Linked DNA regions of Homo sapiens: regions 1, 2, 3, 5 and 6 are each linked to region 4. The links are contacts of gene promoters, found by promoter capture Hi-C in human tissues and cell types (Jung and others, 2019). All regions are on one chromosome and are shown on one strand. The core of a region is centred on a gene start or on the middle of the fragment in contact, and the rest is flanking DNA. Distances in the headings are between cores, read along the strand shown. Region 1 has its middle 53 kb from the start of LINC01673. Region 2 has its middle 25 kb from the start of LINC01673. Region 3 has its middle 130 kb from the start of LINC01673. Region 4 holds the start of ADAMTS5 (ADAM metallopeptidase with thrombospondin type 1 motif 5). Region 5 has its middle 38 kb from the start of LINC01673. Region 6 has its middle 73 kb from the start of LINC00113.

The links. The method cuts DNA at HindIII sites, captures the fragments that hold promoters and counts their contacts. A contact is called where the count stands out against the background at its distance.
Region 1: a fragment that was not itself captured here is called in contact with the fragment with the promoter of ADAMTS5 in region 4 in 1 of the 25 tissues and cell types used here (IMR-90 fibroblasts).
Region 2: a contact is called between a fragment that was not itself captured here and the fragment with the promoter of ADAMTS5 in region 4, in 2 of the 25 tissues and cell types used here (dorsolateral prefrontal cortex and heart left ventricle).
Region 3: a fragment that was not itself captured here is called in contact with the fragment with the promoter of ADAMTS5 in region 4 in 3 of the 25 tissues and cell types used here (IMR-90 fibroblasts, dorsolateral prefrontal cortex and lymphoblastoid cells).
Region 5: a fragment that was not itself captured here is called in contact with the fragment with the promoter of ADAMTS5 in region 4 in 2 of the 25 tissues and cell types used here (bladder and dorsolateral prefrontal cortex).
Region 6: a fragment that was not itself captured here is called in contact with the fragment with the promoter of ADAMTS5 in region 4 in 1 of the 25 tissues and cell types used here (heart right ventricle).

What each region holds. Positions count from the first base shown.
Region 1 is chr21:27,584,618-27,587,317 of GRCh38, forward strand. No RefSeq gene overlaps it. Among named protein-coding and RNA genes, the nearest start is that of LINC01673, 53 kb to the right of the region's middle. The HindIII fragment of the contact is 6,113 bases long and covers 1-2,700 here.
Region 2 is chr21:27,612,699-27,615,398 of GRCh38, forward strand. No RefSeq gene overlaps it. Among named protein-coding and RNA genes, the nearest start is that of LINC01673, 25 kb to the right of the region's middle. The HindIII fragment of the contact is 3,174 bases long and covers 1-2,700 here.
Region 3 is chr21:27,507,356-27,510,055 of GRCh38, forward strand. No RefSeq gene overlaps it. Among named protein-coding and RNA genes, the nearest start is that of LINC01673, 130 kb to the right of the region's middle. The HindIII fragment of the contact is 3,550 bases long and covers 1-2,700 here.
Region 4 is chr21:26,965,817-26,968,516 of GRCh38, forward strand. ADAMTS5 (ADAM metallopeptidase with thrombospondin type 1 motif 5) reads right to left here and starts at 1,272. Exons shown (of 8, transcript NM_007038.5): 1 at 1-1,272. The coding sequence starts at 575. LOC124905050 reads right to left here. Exons shown (of 3, transcript XM_047441063.1): 2 at 1,628-2,154; 3 at 840-1,268. The coding sequence ends at 840. The HindIII fragment of the contact is 10,779 bases long and covers 1-2,700 here.
Region 5 is chr21:27,675,342-27,678,041 of GRCh38, forward strand. No RefSeq gene overlaps it. Among named protein-coding and RNA genes, the nearest start is that of LINC01673, 38 kb to the left of the region's middle. The HindIII fragment of the contact is 6,931 bases long and covers 1-2,700 here.
Region 6 is chr21:27,794,526-27,797,225 of GRCh38, forward strand. No RefSeq gene overlaps it. Among named protein-coding and RNA genes, the nearest start is that of LINC00113, 73 kb to the left of the region's middle. The HindIII fragment of the contact is 4,360 bases long and covers 1-2,700 here.

The DNA.
Region 1 (2,700 bases), core at 15-2,514, 620 kb after region 4:
TGTTTTGGTTATTTCCAGTGGAGAGCAGGCCACTGTAGAGATATTTAGGTACAATAGTATCTGGTATCTGTCAATTGATTATGTGAGCAGAGGTGGTACAGCTTTGGTGAACTGGGCTGCTGAGCGCCAGATCGAGCCCATGGCCGTGAAGCAGGGCAGTTAAGAGCCATCGTAGGGGTGGGTCTCTCTAGTGGCAGAAGCAAATTGCCAAATAATAGTTTGTCTGAGAGAGGAGATCTACAGGGAGATGATACTCTAGCTATGATGGCAAAATCGGTCCCAGTTAGAATGACAGTGCAGAGATAATGACCAAATCTTCTGCTGAGGCTGCTACCACCAAGGCTAAAGGACCCTCTTCAACTGAAATATTTAAAAAGAATGATTGCACGGGAATGAAAACCTCAGAAGTTATTACTCTTTAACATATTTGCAGGAAGTTAAAGGAAGAGGCTAATCTCAATGCCAATGAAGAATAATCCATTTTCTTTTCTTTCCTTTTCTTTTTTTTTTTTTTTTTTTTTTTTTTTTTTTTTTTTTTTTTTTGAGACGGAGATTTTTTCTGTGGCCCAGGCTGGAGTGCAGTGGCGCGATCTCGGCTCACTGCAAGCTCCGCCTCCCTGGTTCACGCCATTCTCCTGCCTCAGCCTCCCTAGTAGCTGGGACTACAGGTGCCCGCCACCACGCCCAGCTAATTTTTTGTATTTTCAGTAGAGACGGGGTTTCACTGCGTTAGCCAGGATGGTCTCGATCTCCTGACCTCGTGATCCGCCTGCCTTGGCCTCCCAAAGTGCTGGGATTACAGGGGTAAACCACTGCGCCTGGCTGAATAATCCCTTTTCTTAAGAGCATGACTTCAATTGCAGCCTGAAATCTGGCCAGGGTACATGAGCATAGCCCCCCTTATGATTGTACCCTGCATCTGATACAGAAGATTCTCAAGTGTCATCAATCTTCTAAAATACAAAAAGATTTTACGTATTAAAAAGATGAATTACTTTTATGTCTTTAAAAGCAACAATGCTGTTTGGAGGCATCTGTTTTTAGAAATTCTGAAATCAATCTTTAAGCTAGAGGTAGAAGCAACATTAACAAATTTACGATTAGGGAGTGAGACAAGAATTAGGTTTAGATAGGATAATCTAAATTTCTTAATATGGGTTAAAAAAGACTAGTCACAAGAAAAACAGGGTTAAACATATTCCTTTATAACTTTTAAAATTATTTTAAGTATTAGCAAGCAAAAGGAAAAGCAATTTATGATAAAATCATCAGATTAGCAGTAAAACTTACTTTTCAAGTTTGCGTTATTCATGGGGGCATATTCGCATCACATTCCTTTCATTATGCTCAGGATAGCTGGGCATGGTGGTTCATGTCTGTAATCCCAGCACTTTGGGAGACCAAAGCAGTGGGATCACTTGAAGTCAGGATTGATTGGCACCCAGCCTGGACATCAAAGCGGGACCTTGCCTTTGCAAAATAAAAATAAGAAAATTAGCTTGGTGTAGTGGCATGTGCCTATAGTCTCAGCTACTCAGGAGGCTGAGGTGGGAAGATTATTTGAGCCTAGGAGTTTGAGGCTTCAGTGAGCTGTGGTCACAACACTGCACTCCAGCCTGGGTGACAGTGTGAAACCCCAACTCAAAAAAACAATATTAAGATATAGATATTGCTTAATGTCTTTTCATTTCAACTTTGATAAAACAACAAAGCAAATAATTCCAAAATATATTTCTCATATTAAAAGTGACCTGCCCCCATTGAAAGAAATGTATCATGTTTTGTTTTGCTACATGCATGCATTTGTTGCATCAGTGAAACACGTGAAGTTACTGCAGTGAGGTGTGAACGGGAGCATGAGTTACTCAAAAGAAATTATGTGCAAAACCATGTATACTGAGGCCTTTGTGAGTTAATTTCTTTTTGAAGTTGGCTGCAGAACTTTGTGGTTTGGTTTCCATTCAGTAAATATTCCCAGTGTTTACATAATGCCAAGCAAAGGGACACATGTTGTGGAAGTTTGTTAGAGGGATTCGAACTTTAGGATGAATCTTTTAGTGGAAATTGAAAAACAAACAAGATTTATCTTAAAGAAGTATATATTTAATATATATGAAATACAAGTAATCCGATGTGCAGCATATTCATTCAATGGAATCTTTCTTTGTGTTGTTTTAAGAGTATTTACAAAAATGAAAGAAAAACTGCAGATAAGTTTTCTTTTCTTTATAATCAGGAGCAATGTTTAATTATTTATGAAATCTAAAATTAATAAAAATATATGCATTATCTTTTAGAACAATAATTATAATGGAAGCTATGTTACCATTTACATTTTCTTTTGGAAACACTTTATAATCATTATGGGTTTTGGGAATTTTCAGAGGCACTAATGCATCGTCAGTATTCGGTAATTCTGAAAAATAAAAGTACCGACATTAAGAAATATTCACTGACATGTGGTCGATTCTCGGATATGAATCCGATGGTCCTCGAAACATGGAAAGTCTGCTGTCACGCTGCACGCCACATCCTGTCAGAACTGGAGTCACACTACAAATCACTTAAATGAGGCTGGAAACCTTTCCAGACAATAGAATGTGTAACTCTTGAAAATGAAACAGAGTGACTGGATCACTCCTTGGTCATCATCACACTGAAATAACATTCAGTGTTTAGCAGTGAAGAATAGGTTAATTG
Region 2 (2,700 bases), core at 134-2,633, 650 kb after region 4:
TCCCGTCTAGTAACCACATGACATTTAGCTGTCATGTCTCCTTAGAATCATCTTTGCTGTGAGTTTCTCAGACTTCTCTTGGTTTTGGTTCTAAAAATTGATTATGAAAATCTTGAGAAATACTGGTCAGGTATGTGGTAGGATGTCCCTCTATTGGAATTTAATATTTTTCCAATGATTAGGGTTAGATGTTCCCCAGATAAAAGACTATGGAGGTAACGTGCCAGTTTTCATAACAACATATCAGTGGTTCACATTATCAACACGACTTATCATTGTTGATATCATCCCATCACCTGGCTGAAGTGGCGCTTGTCAAATTTATCCATTGTAAAATTACTCTCCTTCCCATATTTTTCTCTTTGGCAGGAAGCTACTATGAGCAGCGTACACTGAAGAAGTGGGGAATTATGTAACACTTCTATGAGGGAAGCATAACAACATAAATTACTTGAAATTCTCTAGCATGAGAGATTTGCCTTTTCTCCCCAATTTCTTGGTCATTTATTTCTAAAACTATGGACCTGTGGATATTTATTTTATACTTTGGGGTATAAACCAGTTCTAATCTATTCACTCTGTTGTTCTTTGTTTCAGCCTTGGCCACTGGATGTTCTTTCTGTTGGTTTTTGTGCCTCTTTGATATACTTGCACCATTAGCCTGTGTGTTGAGTGTTTTCTTAATTTCTATAACTGCAAAATGCTCCAGGAGTATCTTGTATGTTTCCTGGTCTAGTCCTGAAATCAGTCATTTATAAAGTCCTGGTTTTGTTGTTGTTGTTTCTCTTTTTTTAAATGGAGATTAATATTAAAAATGAAGATCTACATGTTAGGTGTGCTCTTTTCTACTGGGGTATCTTTGCTTCTGGACATTTAAGGTGAGAAAGCAAAAGAAATATATATGGGTTTATAGTAACCCGTGTGTAAATACATATCTATAAATATTTCTTCATGTAACCATCTGTATCCATATTAAGTTAAACATGAGTTTGAGTTCATACTGATGTATTCAAGTTCAGTTCATTATGACATGGATCATTCTAGCCTCCTCCCCTGGGTTACCTGTCACCTCTCATTCCAGCAGTAAGAAGCTTTTTTTTTTTTCTTTTCAACTTTTATTTTAGATTCAGAGGTTTAATAACTAGGAATATTGCATGATGCTAAGGTTTGGAGTAGGAATGATCCCATCATCCAGGTACTGAGCTTAGTACCCAACAGTTTTTAAATCCTTGCCCTCTTCCCTCCTTCCACCCTCTAGTAGTCTCCAATGTCTATTATTCCCATCTTTATATCTATGTGTAGTCAATGTTTACCTACCATTTATAAGTGAGAACACGTGGTGTTTAGTTTTCTGTTCCTGAGTTAATTTGTTTATGATAATGGCCTCCAGCTGCATCCATTTTGCTACAAAGAACATGATTTCATTCTTTTTTATGGCCATGTAATAGTCCATGGTGTATATGTACCACATTTCCTTTTTCTGATCCACCACTGATGGGCCCCTAGGTTGATTTCATGTCTTTTGTACTGCGAATAGTGCTGTGATGAATGTGAGTGCTTGTGTCTTTTAGGTAGAACAATTTGTTTTCTTTTGGACATATATCCAGTAATGAGATTGCTGGGTCAAATGGTAGTTCTACTTTAAGCTCTTTGAGAAATCTCTAAACTGCTTTTCACAGTGGCTGAGCTAATTTACATTCTCACCAACAGCATATGCCTCTCCTGTTCTCTGCAGACTTGCCAGCATCTGTCGGTTTTTTATGTTAATAACAGCCATTCTGACTGGAGTGAAATGGTATCACATTGTGGTTTTGATTGGATTTTCCATGATGATTAGTGATGTGGAGCATTTTTTAAAGTTTATTGGCCATTTGTATATCTTCTTTTGAGAAGTGTCTTTTCATGTTCTTTGCCCGTTTTTAATGGAGTAGTTTGATTTTTGCTTCTTCAATTGTTTAAGTTCTTTATAAATTTTGGATATTAGACTGTTGTTGGATGCAGAGTTTTTGAATATTTTCTCCCATTCTGTAGGTTGCCTGTTTATTCTGTTGATAGTTTTTTTTGCTGTGCAGAAGCTTTTTTGTTTGATTACATCTCACTTGTAGATTTTTGTTTTTATTGCAATTGCTTTTGGGGACTTAGTAATAAATCCTTTCCCAAGGCCAATGTCCAGAATGGAGTTTCCTAGGTTTCCTTCTGGGAGTCTTACAGTTTGAGGTCTTACATCTTAAGATAAAACCATCTTAAGATGTAAGACCTCAAAAAACAATATCCATCTTGAGTTGATGTTTGTATATGGTGAAATGTGGGGATCCAGTTTCATTTCTCTGCATATGGCTAGCCAGCTACCCCAGCATTATTTATTGAATAGGGAGTCCTTTCTTCATTGCTTATTTTTGTCAACTTTGTTGAAGATTAGATGGCTGTAGGTGTCTGGCTCCATTTCTGGATTCTCTTTTCTATTACATTTGTCTATGTGTCTGGTTGTATAGTATATGTAGAGTATCATGCCTTTTTGGTTACTGTAGCCTTAGAGTATAGTTTGAAGCTGGATAATGTTATGCCTCTGGCTTTCTTCTTTTTGCTTAGAGTGCTTTGTCTATTCAGCTTCTTTTTAGTTCTATGTGAATTTCAGAATAGTTTTTTCCAATTCTGTAAAAAAAAAAGATACTGGTAATTTAATAGGAAAAGCACTGAATC
Region 3 (2,700 bases), core at 158-2,657, 540 kb after region 4:
ATGACCTTCCAAAATCTATAGAAAGGAAATTCCTGATTTTCATCTTGAAAGAAGTTTTTCAATGACAAATAGAAATCACCATTATCTTACTGAGGAAGGATTATATGATGAAGTGTCTTCTGGTGTCTATTCAAGGAAAGTTTGGAAAGCTTCTCAACTGGGATCTGAAAATCCTAACTTGGGATCAGGTAGACACAGCTTTAATCAATACTGTTGTATTATTTTGATATTTCATTTTTTGACTATGTTCTTGGATATGTGTTTTGTTTCACCAAGGACTTCTGCAATTTATTTTTTTATTTTTTATTTTTTATTTTTTGCTACAGAGTCTCACTGTCACCCAGGCTGGTATGTGGTGGCATGAAGGCCTCTGCCTCCCGGATTCAAGAGATTCTTGTGTCTTAGCCTACCAACTAGCTGTGACTACAGGCATACACCACCAGGCCCAGCTAATTTTTATATTTTTAGTAGAGACAGGGTTTCACAATGTTGGCCAGGCTGATCTCAAACTAGCCTCAAATGATCCGCCCGCTTTAGCTTCCCAAAGTGTGAGCCACCGTGCCTGGCCTACAATTTCTTGACAGCACTGATTCTTCTCTATCTTCCTAGGCCTACCAAGGGCCTTTTAGGTGTGTGTTTGACCCTGGCTGTTTTCTGATCTCAGAAACAAAGATCACCCAAGAGCTTTGAGCCACAGGAAGAAGCATAACCAAATATATTTCAGATTATCTAAATGTCCATTAAACACTACACTAATCTTGGGTTATTGTGTGAGGTCTTGAAACATGAGGTCTTAATCATGTCCAAATTAGTAATTGTATGATGGAAAATAATCTGCAATCTCTTTCTCAAAATTGTTTTCTAAAAAAAAACACTGAGGGCTTTTTTATTGTTTGAAAAAGGCAGTTATGAATCACTAAACAGAAATTAAAGCATTTTAAAGATTATTATTTTAGGAATTTTTTACTTGAAAAGTACTAAATAAAGACAAGTAGCATTTAAACAAAGAAAATTATGTTTAATAATTCTGTTGTTGAAAGCTTTATTTTAAAAAAATTGTGGCTATATTTTTAAGTATTTTTAATCAACTCCAGTATTGATATAAAGTTGGCACATTCATTTGTTTGTGATGTACTGTTTTTGCTGTTGGTGGTGGTAGTAGTAGTATTTTTAGCAGCCTTACTCTGAAATCTGGAATGAGAAAGACTTGAACTTTTATGATTGATAATGAACAAAATAATTGATTGGTAAAACAACTGTTAGTAATGGCATTTTTTTATTGCAGATCTTCTCTTTTAGAATTGGGTATAAAGTGATATGCTAAATGTCTTTTAATTTTACATACAAGCAATCAAAGGAGAAATGGCTTGGCGTTCAGATCAGCATGTCAGAGATAGGTGAAGTTACACTGGTGTGTTGGGTGTTTCCTGATGAATATCTCTGAAGACAATGGAGAAATGACACACATGAGACATTTCCAGCAGACCTGAGTTAACTCTACGCAGCTCAGCAGGACTCCATTCATCTGCCTCACAACACCACCAAATCACCACAAAATATTTATTTAAATTAGAATACAATATATTGGATTCTTTTGAAAAATTCACAATATTCTAAATTATATTTTAGAAATTATGCAATAGATAAATGAGAACATAATTACAAAAATAATTTTCAAATTCATTGCATTTATTGTAAACTTTCTTCTTCCAAGGGTTTGAATGAACAAAGAAAATCACTTTGCCTTTATAACTAATAAATAAATGTAAAAACTTTAACTTTTTGCAAGCTAGATACCAACTGCAGAGAAGATGAGACCCTGTTTTATGTAAGTGTTGTTAGTACCTGTTCTCATATTTTTTTCTCTTAGAAACAGAGAATAAAAAGCTAAAAACAAAGGTCTCATTATATTGTAATAAAATGGTACTACATAAATCTGTGCTTATCCTGTCTTCACATACTGCAATCCAAGAGGAAAATGAAGCAAGCTGAAAGCCACAAGGGGAATTCCACACAAAGATAATGCTACAACTACATAGTCATTTAGTATACACATGTATACACACACACACACACACACACACACACACACACACACTCCAAACATATTCCTAGTCAATAGACATAGAAAGGGAATAAATGGTACATTGCAAACAGCATTGATCTGAAACCTAACATATCCAGATTGCTTCTGTCACTACTTATTACCATGGCCTTGGTCATTTTTTACTTCTCCAAGCCTCGGCTTATGCATATGGAAGTGAGAAATCAGATTTGTGGGATTTTCTGCATTTTTTCTGGCTGTGTAAAATTGAGCCACCTAATAATGACCATTAATAGATGTCAAACATGCTACCGGGAAATAATTAGGCTCCACAGTCAAGTGCTACTAGGGTGAACACTAGTTAAGATTTGAGGGAGTTATAATTTTTTACAACTGTATAAAAATTTTAAGAACAGTAATGTGCCGTAAAATACTGAGAAATAACCTACTTTAGTAGACATTTTTTTAGTGCTTAAAGAGAAATTTTCACCTTACAAAACCTCAACAGTTGCAATGGACTGATTGTTTTACTCTGTTAGTTTTGCTTAAATATTAATTAAATATTAAATATTAGAATTTTCTCTGAGAGCCTGGGAATCTTGATGTTAGTGAAGCTGACCAGTGGAAACATGGGTCATAGTGGGGAATGAAAATGG
Region 4 (2,700 bases), core at 22-2,521:
ACGTGCAGGATCCGTGCGGACCCATCCCCGTACACGCGCCCCTTTTCTTCCTCCGCCCAGGGTCCGCGCAGCAGTGGCTTTAGGGTGTAGCGCGCGTGCTTGACCGCGAAGAAGCCGTCGAGACCCCCACAGAGGTCAAAGACAGCCAGAGAGCGGGGACTACCGTCCACTGTGCCCCGATAGAAGCAGTGGCTCCGGTGGCGCCAGGGCGCACTCGTCCCGCCTCCTGCGGGCACGAAGCCAGCAATGCCCACCGAACCATCTCGCTCCAGGTCCAAGAGGAACCTCCGGCCGCCCGCGTAGACGAGGTAGCCCACCTTGCCGCCGCCGGAGTAGAGTTGGTCGATGTTCTGCACCAGCCCCTTGCTCCTGCGCCGCTGCGCCAGGGGGTGCGGGTGGCCGGGAGGCTCGGCTCGCTCCTGCACCTCCTCCCCCTGCCGCCGGCGGGGCTGGGCGGCTGCTGCAGCAGTCGGAGGCTGCCCGGCTTTATCCTGGGCAGGTGTCGCGGCGGGGCCGACCGCGGCCAGGGGCAGGCGGAACGCGCACAGCAGCAGGGACGCCCACCCGAGCAGCATAGTGCGCTGCCCGCGGGGAGGGGCTGCGCGACTGGGACTTTATGGGTATTTGTTATTTGCTATGAAGTTAACGGGGCGGGGGATGGGGACACACACACACTTGCTTGCAGGATTGAGTCAAGTGTCGGAGGGAGGGGGGCCCGGCAGCAGCGCCAGCCTGTCCGGGCTGCGGTGCCAGCGTGCGAACTTTTCTTTGTTGCTTGGGAAAATGTTTGGATTCGTGCTCCAGAAAGAGGTGGGGTGGGGGGGGGGGGAAAGAAAAGATTAAAAAAAAAAAGTCGGATAGTGGAGATTCAGCAAATACGGGAAAAGGAAAAAAACAAAAACCAAAAAACCACCAAATGCAGGCACGATCGCTGTTTCAAGAAAAGTAAGGAAAGGTACCGCGCACCGGGCTGGCAACTGGTGCGCGCAGCCTCCCGCCCCCGCGCTGCGCTGGACAAGCCGGCTGTGGAGGTTCCAAGCTCCGGGGCCCACTTCCTTTCTTATTTTGTGGGTTTCCTTGGCTCTGCTGGGACCAGGAGGAAGGGAAGAAAGAGAGGGGAAAAAGCCGTAAAAATTAAAACAAAAATGCAGGGGGGCAGCCTGAGGCGAGCTGGTGAAGCGGCGTGTCTGTGTCCCTTCGGCTGCGGTCTCCTCCTGCCCGCCGTCATCCCCAGTCGGCAGCTGCGAGCGCCGAGAGCAGCGCGAGCGCTGTGAAGATGCGAGGAGGTGGAACAATGAATTTATAGCGGCATGCCATCCTGCAATGGCAATTTCAACAGTTCGTCACTGCACGCTGCCTCTTAAAGGGAGAGCTTCCCCCACCACTCCCACCCTTCCCAGTCCGCGCCTAATCAGATGGGGGAGGGCAAAAGAGGAGGGTGATCGAGGAAAGGGAGACGAAGTAGGAGGAAGGGACTGGGACCCGGCGAGGTGGTAGGAGGGGAGAGGGGAAAATAAAAAGTAATGGGGCAAGAAAAACAGATTTCCTTGGCCACTTTTAAAGCCACAGCGGCTCCGGGTCTGTCTGATATTTCACAACCAATTGGGGTTGGCTAACCTTGGCTTACCTCATCTCCTGAACGGGTGTTTTGGTTAAAGTTATTGAGACGTTTCAAGTCTCTCCCTGCCTCCTTCTTGCCTGCTTTTCTCGCCCTCGGTGGGAAGTTCCTGCCGCAAGTTTTTCCCCTTTGCACACCCGTGCGCTCTGGCCTCGCAGACCGTGCAACTCCATCCACCAGCCAGAGCTTTTCAGCTTCCCGTGCGTCCCCTAACCACCGCGTTCCCTTCGCTTCCTCCCCTCCGTCCCGGCACCCGGTTTCCTCCCTCCCCATTCTCCAGCCTCTTGATGCTTTGACGCTCGCCGGATTCGGGCTCCGGGTGACTAACTTCTCCCGGCCACCAGCAGAGCGGCTGGACAGCCAGAGAGCCCAGGGCGCTTCCTGGCGCGCTGCGGTACCCCGGGGCGAGAACGCCCGCCGCTTGGGAACTCCGCAGCTTTGTGTGCGAACGGCGGGCTCCCAGCTTTCTCCAGCACGCCTTTCGTCAGGGTCCACAATCTGTCCCTTACTCCCAGCCCACTGGAACTTCCTTTGCTCTAAAAAGGCAGAGCGAGAAAGAGTTAACTCTTAGAGGGAATTCCGCTCATTTTTTTTCCCTGAAAGATTTTAAAATTTTGCGCTCATACTTTTATTTTTTGCTTAAATGATACTTTAATAATAAATTCCTATATCTGTTTTTGTCTCTTCTAAAGCAACCACTTATCGCCATAGGCCTTGACCTACCTTCATTCTCAGAAATTCCTTTTAGAAGAAAAAGAATACTTTTGGCGGAAGGAAGATTGGTGCTTATTAGTACGCGGGTGACATTATCACTGCTACTCGTTTCCTCTGACCTCTTTGTTTCCTCTAATTATCATTCTAAGAAGGGAGAAGGAAAACCCGACGACTTATGGTTAGAAGGTCTACCTTCTACTGTAGGGGTAAGAGCTCCCTCCATGCCCAAATTATTCTTCAGGCTAATTAACTAATGCACCAGTGAAAAATGAATGTGGTGTAATTTGTACATTTCCATCTTTTTCTACGTTTAACTTTGGCTACGCTGGGGATAGCAGGGCGGGTGCCTTAATGGGGCCCCAAGCTGA
Region 5 (2,700 bases), core at 142-2,641, 710 kb after region 4:
ATTTCTGTCTTGTTGGGTCTTCACATTCTCAGCTTCATTAGATAATGCCAAATTGCTTTTCAAAATATTCCCACTAGTGTAGAGTCTATCGGGTTTGTATGAGTTCCCGTTATTCTACATCCTTGCCAAAGCTTCATGTTTTGGGACTTGTTAATTTTTGCCAATCTGGTGGGTGTAAAATGGTATCTCATTGTGGCTTTAATTGGAATTTCCCTGATTACAAAAGCGGTTAAACTCCTTTTACAGAATTAAGAGCTATTCATCAAAATGCCCGTTTGTGCATATTGCCAATTAGTATGCTGAGTTATTTATCTTTTTCTTACTAATTTGTGGGAGGTTTTCATATGTTCTGGAGAGTAATCCTTTGTTCATTACACATTTGTTGAACCAGTCTGCATTGTTTCTCTTTGCATTTTTTGTATTTATTGCTACACAGAAATTATTAACTTTTTTCTCATTTATTTTTTGACCCTTTAAAAATTAACCCTTTGGGCCGGGCGCGGTGGCTCACGCCTGTAATCCCAGCACTTTGGGAGGCTGAGGCGGGCAGATCACGAGGTCAGGAGATCGAGACCATCCTGGCTAACACGGTGAAACCCCGTCTCTACTAAAAATACAAAAAGTTAGCTGGGCATGGTGGCGGGTGCCTGTAGTCCCAGCTACTCGGGAGGCTGAGGCAGGAGAATGGCGTGAACCCGGGAGGCGGAGCTTGCAGTGAGCCGAGATTGCGCTACCGCACTCCAGCCTGGGCGACAAATGAGACTTTGTCTCAAAAAAAAAAATAAAATAAAATAAAATTAACCCTTTTAATAGAACAAAGGCATAAAATTTTCTCCTGATTTCACTTAAAAATGTTTCATAACTTTGCATTTTTTTGTATAGATCTTGAATTCACATTACAAATGTCAAAATTGGCAGGGAATGTAAAATGAACAGGAAAACTCTTAAAGTACCTAAAATAGTAAATAAATGGTGATAATAAATATGAATCCCGTGTTTAAACTTTTCATGTTATTTTTTGTTTTGAGATTATTAAGAGAATAAATTCAAAATGAAATTACAAGTAATTTTACTTTGAGGTAAAAAATTTACTAATATGGTAATTTTATTGGAATATAGAATACTTGTAGGTCACTGGCATATTCGAAAATATACATTGTGAATTGTGCGGTAATCGAACCTAGTCCTTCTTTGAAACTGAGTGAATGTGCTATAGCTTTAGTAGGAAAACTGATGAGACCTGGTAAAAAGGCACAGCTTTTTATATCTGTTGTATTCTAACTCTTAGGAAATGTTTTTAAAGCATTCAGACAGAGGCAACAGAAAAATCTAGGTTTATTTATTCTGTTTGTTTTTCATGTAAGAATATTTGATCTTCTTACCCGCTTAATTTCACCTGGTTTGTTCAATTACTAGTATATAAACTTGTACCGAACTTTCAGAAATGTAATTTATACAACATTCTTGTGAAAATGTTTACTCTTTATCTTAAAAAATTAAAAATCGAAAGTTTGACTGCATTTGTGTCCAAATTTCTTGAGATTCAAAACATTTTTATTAGTGTTCTAATATGCATACACAGGTAAGTTCTAAATTAAGGCAGTTTAGAGTCTTTTTCCTCATATAAACATTCTATAAAATAAAATGATGGTAAACCATTATTTCACTTTTTATGAACAAAATGAAAGAGAAAATTTCAGATCTCTCTACACTCCATTCTGGACTTCAATGTGCACAGAAAGACATCAAGAGTTAACTTAAGAGGAAGAATAAAATAAATATCTAACGCCCTTTAAAGTGTTATATTTTTACGGCAAGTATCTGGATTTGTTTTTATAAAGTCTTTTAAAATTACTTTTGTGCAAGCTACCATAAAATATAATATTGATATTTTGGAAAATATCGGGGTTTAATTCTAAACTTTATTAAGTTAATATTTATCTGAATAAATTTGGAAAGTAATCTAACTTCTTTCAGCCACAATTAGTTTTCTCAGCTCCTATAGATCACACAGTTATGTGAAAAGCAAATGAAAAAGTACTTTGTAAGCCTTAATATTTTTATATTCCTGTAATATATGATGTGGAAATGAGACAAAACAATGTTATCATTTAGAAGTCCCAGAGGAAACTTCTAGTGAGTCCATTAAATTTATGTTAAATCTATTTTGAAGCTAAATATTATTTATTTTTTTGAACTACATATCTTAAAATTAGAAGTTTCCCAAGAGAGGTTATAGATGAAATTATGGATTTAACACTAGTTAGTTAAGAATGTAATCTTGTTTTAATACTGCAGGCTTTCAGCCAGGATTATACCTCATACATTGCTCGAATATTTTCCTCAAATAATTGAATACTTTGGAATGGAATTTTACATTCACTCTATATGCCAGCCCTCAAGCCTCAACTAAGCTCAACTTGAAAAACAATGCTGTACACATCACCCAAGCAAAAACTTTCTCACATTAATTAAGAGATTCTGATTGGATCCCAGCAATCAACTCATATGGCGCCATATCATCCACATTATTTGTAGAGTAGGCCATGATATTTATTACTGTTGGCCTGGCAGCTGTGTCTTTGAAATTTTGAGGTGGTTACAAATGGAAATGGGCCACATACCCCAAACTTACCTTCTTTCATTACTTCATTTTTTCTGGCACTTGTAGTTGCATTTATGGAATTTATATATTTCATA
Region 6 (2,700 bases), core at 168-2,667, 830 kb after region 4:
CATGGAAAGGTGTTAAGGACTCTTATTCAAAGGATTTTTCCATTGACTAAAGGGAAAGGTTTGCCCTGAGTAATGTGCTCATGACGAGAAATTTAATAACAAGGATGAAACCGTTTTACCAGGAATGATTCAGGAATACAATGCCTTAGGTACTTAAGTAGTTGTAATTGATACCAACCAAAAATGACCACATTTCCTCACATATGTCTTTAGTTACATGCCACATTTCTGATGAAAACAAGGTTGCTAGCTGGTCCCTAATGGTGTCATTTTTTGTGTCATTAACTTAATTTGCTTTTTATTAAGTTCTAGTCCTGATCAATTATAATAGATTCTAGGAAACAACTCAAATAATGTTTCTGGTAAATAAAATGCTCCCATCACTAAATAAGAATGACTAATGATACAACAAAAAAGGAAATGCCTCAGACTCTTACGGAAACAAATTATCCTCCTTTTCTCCTTGAATAAGTTTGTATCTACTCTTTTAGGGGACAAGTATATGGAAAAAGTCAATAAACAGAAACCGTCGGAACTTGCCTAATGACATTACCAACATGTTCAAAAAAAGTAGATTCTTGAGAATTTTATAATAAAACGTAACAGATTTATTATTCCATTTTTACTCTTTACAAAACAGGTGCACTAACCACAATTGGCTTTAATAATGAAAGTATTTCAAATATCGTATTCAACAATGAAATCACAACTCCCATAAACCGTGCTTTCAATCCCTGGTGCTTCTTTAAACTCTGAAGAACTTTAAAATTTGAAAATAAAAAATAAATAAAATGAATTTTTCGTTTTAAAATTTTAAAACAACTTAAAAAAATTCCAATACCTGGAATATAAAGTTAGAATATGGAAATAAAGGCCTGGCCATCAGCTAGTTTTTAAAACTCCTGAGTGTGCATGTTAGATTGAGAACTACTGCTCTAAGGAATGTTTTACATTTCAAATATTCAGACAGAGGCCAAGTTCCTGTTCTAACAATTTAATTAATTGTTATGAAATGGTGAGGGGGTTCACACTCTTGAATACTACTTTGTGAACAAGGATCTCTCCCACACCTTCCCAGTGACAGTTGCTAATAACGTCTTTGAAGTTAAGTCTGCATGAAAGGGCAATGTAAAAATCCTTTTTATAACTGGAAATGAATCAGACAAGCTTCTCAGCTACTCCCTAACCAAATTCCAGTAAATCTTATATTATTTGGCCCATTTTCCCTAACTCCTGTTGCGATTTAATTCTGCTTCAGTCCTATCCAAATTACCACTCTCAAAAGATTTTGCTTAGCAAATAACTTTTTAAGCTATATTATCAGTTCTTGTCAAAATTGCATGTTGGAGCCTGGAAAATATCATTTTAATACTAAAAATCCCTCTAGTAACTCAATTACTTCGGGATTTTGTCATGTGTGTGAAAAGAGTATTTAGTTCCAAAAATAGAGAGACTTCTAAGGTAGGGCAATTTTGTTAGGTGGTTTTTTTTTTTCTTTTTCTTTTTTAGGTGAGTATTTTAATTTAAAGTTCAAAACAAGTTCAGCAGATTAGAATCCCAGATTTTTTTTAGTGGGGGTATTATCCTCATTTTATTATTAAAGGGTGAAATTAAGCCATAGAATTTCTTCTTAGGAAGCTCCCTCCTAGGTAATGCAGCTGTCAAGCTATGGACAAACCATTTCACGTGGTTATTTCTTTAACAGTATAAAGTACACAAGTGATTCAGCTGGGGCTTTATTCTTGCCTGCGTTTCTAGAATGCTTCTAACCTAAGGCAGCATTTAAGGTGTTTTATCCCAACATCTGGAAGTCATCATCTAAACACTCATACCATTACCCCATGTCTAATCTTTTGTTCTGCTCCTTCATTTGTTTATGTAACAATTGCTTTTTAAGCATTTCTGCATGGCTGGCATTTAGGATACAATGAGAACAAAAACACAACAGGAAAAATATCTGTCTCCACAGAGCTTGCATTCTTATGGGATAGACTGAAAATAAACACTGTAAGTTTCGGATACCAAATTATAAATGCTAAATGGAAAGTAGAATCAGTGAAGGGTGTAAAAAATTTTGGAGATAGACGTGAGTTTCACATGGTAGTATTATATTTCAATGGGCGCTCACTGTAAAGGTGAAATTTAGGTAATGAATTTAGAGGCCAGGCATGGTGGCTCATGCCTGTAATCCCAGCATTTTGGGAGGCCGAGGTGGGTGGATCACCTGAGGTCTGGAGTTCGAGACCAGCCTGGCCAACATGGTGAAACCCGTCTCTACTAAAAATACAAAAATTAGCTGGGCATGGGGGCATGCGCCTGTAATCCCAGCTACTCAGGAGGCTGAGGCAGGACAATCCTTTGAACCCGGGAGGCAGAGTTCGCAGTGAGCTGAGATCCCACTACTGCACTCCAATCTCAGTGACAGAACAAGACTGTCTCAAAACAAAACAAAACAAAACAAACAAACAAACAAACAAAACTTAAAGAGAATCGTAGGAAAAAAAACTGCACATGGTAGAGGAATAGTAAATGGATTTGAGGGAAAGCTATAAGGCCAGTGTTGCAAGAGATAAGTGCAGAGAGAAGTGGGGACGGATCTTGGAGGAACTTCTGGCTCAAAGTAAGAAATTTGCATGACAGGATAAATTCAATTGATTGTTTGATAGTGGAGAAAGATGCTCTGATTTATGGTTTAGTAAG